Regions from separate parts of the Homo sapiens genome. Here region 2 is linked to region 1. Evidence: promoter capture Hi-C in 16 types of primary human blood cells and fetal thymus (Javierre and others, 2016). All regions are on one chromosome and are shown on one strand. Each heading gives the region's core, a stretch centred on a gene start or on the middle of the fragment in contact. The rest is flanking DNA. Distances are from core to core; before and after follow the strand shown.

Region 1 (3,516 bases), core at 438-2,937:
GAAGGGTCATGGATATCAGACTCAAAAGTTTGTAGCTAGTAAAAGTGAGCCGATAAAAATGTTACTGCTAAGGAACACATCGATTTTTCAGGAAAGACAAGAGTTTTTCCTGGCCTGAGATCCAAAATAAATTTCTTACATGAGATCTAGTAAGGGCACAGGGCACACCAAGTCACCGTGAGTGTCAAAGCAAATCTCAGAGTACTTTTAATCCAACAAACATTTATGAAACATCAGGCTTGGTGTTTTGTGCTAAATAATTCAACCTTAGAACAGAATTCAGTGAAGAGAATACGAGGCTAAATTAATATGACTTTCAAGATCTCCAAAAGGTAGGTTGATCATCTGTTCTGTTAACCATGATCCTGAGATATTTCCTTACAGATGAACTTTTCTCTTATAACCAAAGGTTTACAGTTCAAGATTATACACTTCATTGAGCACCCTGGTCCTGTGGTATTCTTTGCTGTATACCAAGTGCGGATTAATCCGCAGCTTTGAAAATCAAAGAGATATCACCAGTTGTTCATCACCACAGACATTTAGCTGGACTATAAATATTGGAAAGAAAAAAAAGTTGCTCGTGAAAATACGTGGTGAATTCCTTTAAAGAGAAACCGGTGAGAAATATTGCTTCACCTTAAAGCCTAGGATGGTAGCTACCGTTTTTCTCAAGACTGTCCTTACATAACCTATTGGCATGGGGAAAAAGTCAATGTTTATAAACTCCTTAAGAAACTTAAAATCTGGAAAAGGCAACTACGTATCATGTCAACTAAAGTAAGATAATTAACACTAGGATCAAAATTTGGAATCCACGTGAAAGATTCTGCAAAGATCACTTAAATCTCAGACCTTATGCACTATTTTAAATATTTATTTAAGCAGAAATAGAAAATCTTAGTCTATTATATTTCCATTTAATTTCCTGGACTTAAGAAATCTATGTGTGACTGATTGAGTTGCCTAATGGGGTGCAAACATAAAAATTTGCATTGGGATTCATTTTATTCTCAGTTTAAAATCAGTAGTATCATTGAAAACAAGACACTAATTTTCTGGAAGTTTAATTTATTTGTCCCTCTTATTATCGGGGCTGGTAAAAAAGGGCTAATTGAACACACATTCTAACAAAGATTGCAGCAACGCCTGCAAAGACGGGCCCAAGCGCACCGTATTTCTGTTAAGAACGTGTGATTTTTTTTTTCTGCGCCACCTTGTGGCCGTAAAACAACTTGCCCACGTGAAAGTTGACCGCTTTTTCCCGCGCCGGCAGAGCCTTGCTGAGAGCCGCACTGCGGGAATCCGCCTCCAGACAAACGTGCAGAAAATGGTGTCTTCCTTTACAACCAGTGACAGGAAACAGACTTCCCCTTCTTCATACTCCGTTTCCTTTATTCCTGAATTCCATTTCCTCGGCCCGCCCACCCACTGTCCTCAGACAGCCGTTTCCCAGTGTGACCTCCTTTTCCAGCTGCACTCTCCGGCGGAGGCCCTTTTCCCAGCCCGGACCCTCCCGGGCGGCCCTCGCAGCCCTCACCTCCGGGTCCCCGCCGCCCCTGCTCCATTACAGCACGATCCCCGCCACACAGGCCCGCCTCTCCCTCCGACAGCCAATCGCGGCGCGACCCCGCCCCTCCCGCTGGGGCCCGGGGCGCTAGAGCGCTCCGGGAGGCTAGGGGAGCTGAATTCTGCGTCTTCCTTTAGGCTGCGGCGAGACAATCCCCAGAGCCCCGCGGCCCGGCCTCGGGGCAGCCATGGACTCGCAGGAATTGAAGGTGAGCGGGTGAGCGGGTGAGCGGGTGAGCGGGCGGGCGGGCGGAGTTCCTTTGCGGCCTTTTGGCCCGGGGGCGCGGAGGGAGCTCGGGTGGCTTCGCTAGGCCGCTGTTTCCCTGCGGTGCCCCGGCTGCTCGGGTTGCGGGGTGGGCCTGCAGCCTCTGCTCACGGCCGGTCTCCGCGGGCCCTGCTGGGGAAGCCCAGGTCTGGGCAGCCCGCCCGCTCGGTGTTTCTGAATTGCTGGTCCCCATGCTGTTGGTTGTGTTTACTTTTGTATCATGTTTACTAGGAAAGCTTGGGTTACCTATGACACTGCGCCTCCGGGTGCGATTTTTAAGGACTTAAGGCAAACTAGTGTCAGCTCCCACACTGGACAGTAAAAAGAGCGCAGAAAGATTATATGAAACCCATTAAAGACGTAAGACTTAAAAGTGGAGGGGTCGTTATTTTAGGGTGATGGTCTTCTCTGTTTATCACTGACTCATTCATTCAGCAAATATTAATGACGGTCAACTTAAGAAAGGCTGATATAAAACAGTTAAAGACATGAGGCTTGAAAATAAAATAACTTTTCGGATGTTGGTCTTCTCTATTCATTTGTTCACTGAATCACTCGTTCAGCAAATATTTATGAAGGGTTACTGTATGTCCATTAGAAGCTGGAGATAGCAGTGAGCAAAACTGAACAGTTTCTGCCTTCTCAGATTTTACAGGCTAATTAATGCTGGGGAAAAACCCTAATTCAGTTGACTCAACAAATATTTACTGAATGCCTCCTATGTGTCTAGCACTGTTCTAAGCACTGAAATAATAAAACCAAGAAAAACTCTTCCAATCTTGGAGCTTACATTTGAGTAGGAGGAGTCAGACAACAAGTAGGTAAATGAAATGTGTATCCTGTGAGATGGTGATAAGTGGATGGAGGACAATTTGGCGATGTAGGAGGTTAGGGAATGCTGAAATGTCTTGTTTTTCTGCCTGAAGTTTTACATTATCCTCTGTTCTAGCTATCCCCCTATATCCTTACATTTTTTTATTCCCTTAAATGTATTATTTGCACTGCCACCCAAATGAACATTTTAATAAAAACACTTTAATGTAAAATGTAAAAATGGGCCTCCTCATTACTTAGACTTGAGGTTCAAGTCCAAGTACTTAATATGAGGCTTTTCACCCCACCTTCGTCTCCAACCTCATCATCCAATACTCTCTGTCTCACTTAAGCCTCCAGAGCAGAGAATAGCAAACTTTCTCAACAAAGGGCCAGATAGTACACATTTTAGACTTTATGGACCGTATGGTCTATCACATCTAATTGGCTTGTTCAAAACAGCCATAGACAATACTTAAATGAGCATGGCTGTGTTTCAATAAAACTTTATTTATGAACACTGAAATTTGACTTTCATGTAATTTTCATGTTATGAAATATTTCTTTTTTTTCCTTGACAGCTGGAAAATATAAAAACCATTCTTAGTTCACTGGCTGTACAGCCAGCCAGCCAGATATGGCCCACAGAGTGTGGTTTGCCAAACCCTGCTCTAGAGTATGGAGTGGCTTTTAGTCATCTTCATCACCACTGCCATCCCAATGTACCATTGATGACTTGTTATCTGTGTTGTTGCAGTTCCTCTTCCTAACTCCTGTACCTTCCTCAAGAATCATGAAAAGGAAATAGGAAGAGCGTGTACGTGTGTGGAGGGAGAATGAGGGGTTTGCAATTCAAGAGTCAGCTCTGA
Region 2 (3,398 bases), core at 632-3,131, about 11 Mb before region 1:
CACCATGCCAAGCTAATTTTGTATTTTTAGTAGAGACAGGGTTTCTCCATGTTGGTCAGGCTGATCTCAAACTCCCGACCTCAGGTGATCCGCCCACCTTGGCCTCCCTGGGATTATAGGTGTGAGCCACCGCGCCTGGCCTATACTGGAGTTTAGTTTATCCACTGGGCAGGTTGCTCAAGTTCAAACTCCCTAAGCAGATATTCAGCGAGTATCTTACATAACTGGCACAAATGAGGTCATATCACGGTCAGAACCTCTGTATGCATTTATCCCTCCATCTACTTCATTGATAAAATGTCTGTGTTCGTGAAGTGTATTTTGATAAGGAGACTATCTCTCCATCGTCTAATAAAATGAAACTTATGCATGGTGTGATGAGGTTTTTTACTTTGTATGTAGCAACAAAGATATGTTATGGGAAAGACAGCTTCCTCATTCCCAGGGAAGTCATTTTCTTCTGAGAGTCTGAGTTTTATTAAATCACCAAGTATCATCTCCCTGTTTGTGCTCCCAATGTTGGTTAACAAACAAAGAGCAGCCAGGGGAAACCCTGCCTTTGATAGTCACCATACATACAGTATGCTGTTTTGGTTATCAATTGCTATGAAACAAACCACCCCCAAATTTAATAGCTGAAAGTGATTTATTATAATTTCTCACAGTTCTTGGTGTTGACTTAGCTTAGCCAGGGAGTCTTCTGCCGGTCTTGCTTACAGTCTCTTGTATGTGACTGCAGTCATATAGCAGCTGGAGCTGGAGTTCTTTGGGGGCTTGAATAGGTGGGCTCGAAGGTCCAAGATGGTTTCTTCATTCACATGTCTGGTGTGTTGGTTCACATAGTCTCTCTCTCTCCATTTAGAGTTTCATCTTCCATGACTTTTCCCATGGCCTCTCTTTCCATCAAGGTAGTCAGACCTCTTAGGATGATGGCTGACTTCCAAGAGTATAAAATTAAAAGCTGTCAGGGCTTTTTCAAGCTTAGGTTAAAACCTGGCATAATGTCACTTCTGGCCTCTTTCCATACCTTAAAGCAAGTTGCAGGGCCAGCCATGCTTGTTTCAATATGAGGGGACTAGACAAATGCCTCAATATCAGGAGAGGTGGTTTACTGGGTGCCATCTTTGGAAGCTTTCTATACTTTACACTGGACAAAGTAGAATTTCAACTACAATTCTAAAAGATTATGAATATTTTCTGGCTCAAACATGGAGAACAATTGAGAGGAAGTGACAGAGAGAGGAAGAAGCCTCAAAGTGATGGAGGATTTTGAAACAATCGGTACTTTCTTGCACCTTGCAACTTGGCAGATTGGAGCACAAAGGAGGTGGAACTAAGGGGTCAATGCATCACCATTATCCAGACTTCTTATACCCAGAAGACTTACTTGATGATACTTTTTTTTTAGACAGAGTCTCACTCTGTCGCCAGGCTGGAGTGCAGTGGCGTGATCTCGGCTCACTGCAACCTCCGCCTCCTGGGTTCAAGCAATTCTCCTGCCTCAGCCTCCCTGAGTAGCTGGGACTACAGGCGCATGCCACCACAACCAGCTAATTTTTGTATTTTTTAGTAGAGACAGGGTTTCACCACGTTGGCCAGGATGGTTTTGATCTCTTGACCTCGTGATCCGCCAGCCTCGGCCTCCCAAAGTGCTGGGATTATAGGCGTTAGCCAGAGCACCTGGCCAATGATGCTTATTTTTTATGAGCAATCTGGAGCAAGGTATCACAATTGACACATCTCAAGCATGTAGGGAAGGCCGTCTTCCCAAAGACAGCAAATGATTCAGGAATCAATGAAAAGGTACAAGAGTCAATAGAACATAAAACCAATTGGAGGGTATTTTTCCCAAATAGTAGCGAGGAGAGCCTGGCAGCAAAAAAGGATCCCATGGCAGCAAGACAGGAGAGAAAAACCAGCACCTCCTCTTTCTTGTTCTTTCTTGCTCCTCCAGAGCTTCTCAACATGCATTATCTGTGCCCTCCTAACACAATAGGCAGGTTTGGAGGGCAAAGCAAGGGCTCAGGCTCTCATATGAAGACAATCACATTCCAGAGTCTGCCAAGATTGGGCACCTCCTTGACGTGGGTGGTCTTGAGAATGGGGTTCCCTTTATTTGGCTAAACCAAATGCCAAACAGCTTTTCCTTAGTGTTTGTTTTTCTTAAACAAGTTCAAACTCTTATCATATTGCTCCCCTCCCTTTGAAAATATGTACTCTGCAGATGCCTGAAATAACACACTCTCAGCAAATTGCAGCATTGGAAAAGTGAAGGTTATTTCATTCAGTCTAAACTCAATGGAAATTTTGTGGCTTAACAAGGAAATACCAAATACTTTATAAACTCCTTTAGAGCAGTAACCATGTCATATGACTCTGGTATCTCCTACCTACTAGGCTCATTGTCTACCTTCTCTGATGTCGTAATTTTAATAAGTAACTTGAATTGTTAACAATTTACTCTTGTCTTTTTCTTGGACTCAGAAATGTTATTTTATTATTATGTCTCTGCATCTTTCATGTGAGGTCCTTTGCAAACAGTTTTCTCCTAACTTGTTTTCATTGTGCAGATCATGTTGCAGGGTTTTCACATAACAGCTGAAAGGAATTAATAGGAGTTAAAGAAGCTTGCTTCAATTACAAGTAATTAATTTAGGCTTCACTTATCTCAAGGAATATCTGAATATACAAATTTACACATAAATCCTGGGAGTGTCAAATTATGCAACCTAGAGAAAGTAAGCTCTGCAGCTTTTTGGGCGTTGATTGCTATAGTCAGGGGTGTGTGTGTGGTTTTTGAATGAAATAGCAAAACCACTGCCAGTATTATCTACTTCACCTGGTTTTGAATAATTCCAGGAAGCTAGAAACTGAAAACCAGTCTTGTATAGAGTTAGAAAGATTGTAAATGCAGAAGAGGAAGAAAAAAACAAAACTAAACCATTTATCTATCCTCTTTGAACCCTTATAAGAGTTCACAATATTCCTCGTTTCAAATACTTGAAGTCTTCTCTGGGCAATGATTAATTTTTAAATAATTGTTTTTAATGTAAGACATAAAACATACGCACTGCAGATTTAAAGCATACTTGGAAGTAACAAGGAGAAACATAAAAATCGTTGATTCCACAGCATTTAATATATTGGTAACCTTCAATTTTTTTCTAGGCACGTTTTTATAAAATGAGCCAATACTATACAAACGTTTTTGTAACTTTTTTTAATTTGTACTATTTTGTGAGTACGTGAAAAAGAAATTTGTAAAGAGTAAACGATTACAGCATGTTGTGGTATTACACACTGTTGAAGGGCGCCATCTGTGGCGTGGTGGCTGCGCTTTGGTGGGAAGAGGTTCTCTTGGGGTTCCCGTTTTTCTCCCAGCTCTGGGTGGGCAATAC

Evidence for each region. The method cuts DNA at HindIII sites, captures the fragments that hold promoters and counts their contacts. A CHiCAGO score of 5 or more calls a contact.
Region 2: a contact is called between a fragment that was not itself captured here and the fragment with the promoter of TTC21B in region 1, in 1 of 17 cell types (non-activated CD4 T cells). The highest score is 5.5, in non-activated CD4 T cells.

Annotation. Positions count from the first base shown.
Region 1 is chr2:165,951,947-165,955,462 of GRCh38, reverse strand. TTC21B (tetratricopeptide repeat domain 21B) reads left to right here and starts at 1,687. Exons shown (of 29, transcript NM_024753.5): 1 at 1,687-1,778. The coding sequence starts at 1,758. RefSeq lists an enhancer at 923-1,672 and a silencer at 1,437-1,836. The HindIII fragment of the contact is 9,565 bases long and covers 1-2,072 here.
Region 2 is chr2:177,265,432-177,268,829 of GRCh38, reverse strand. No RefSeq gene overlaps it. Among named protein-coding and RNA genes, the nearest start is that of NFE2L2, 2.4 kb to the right of the region's middle. The HindIII fragment of the contact is 1,496 bases long and covers 1,134-2,629 here.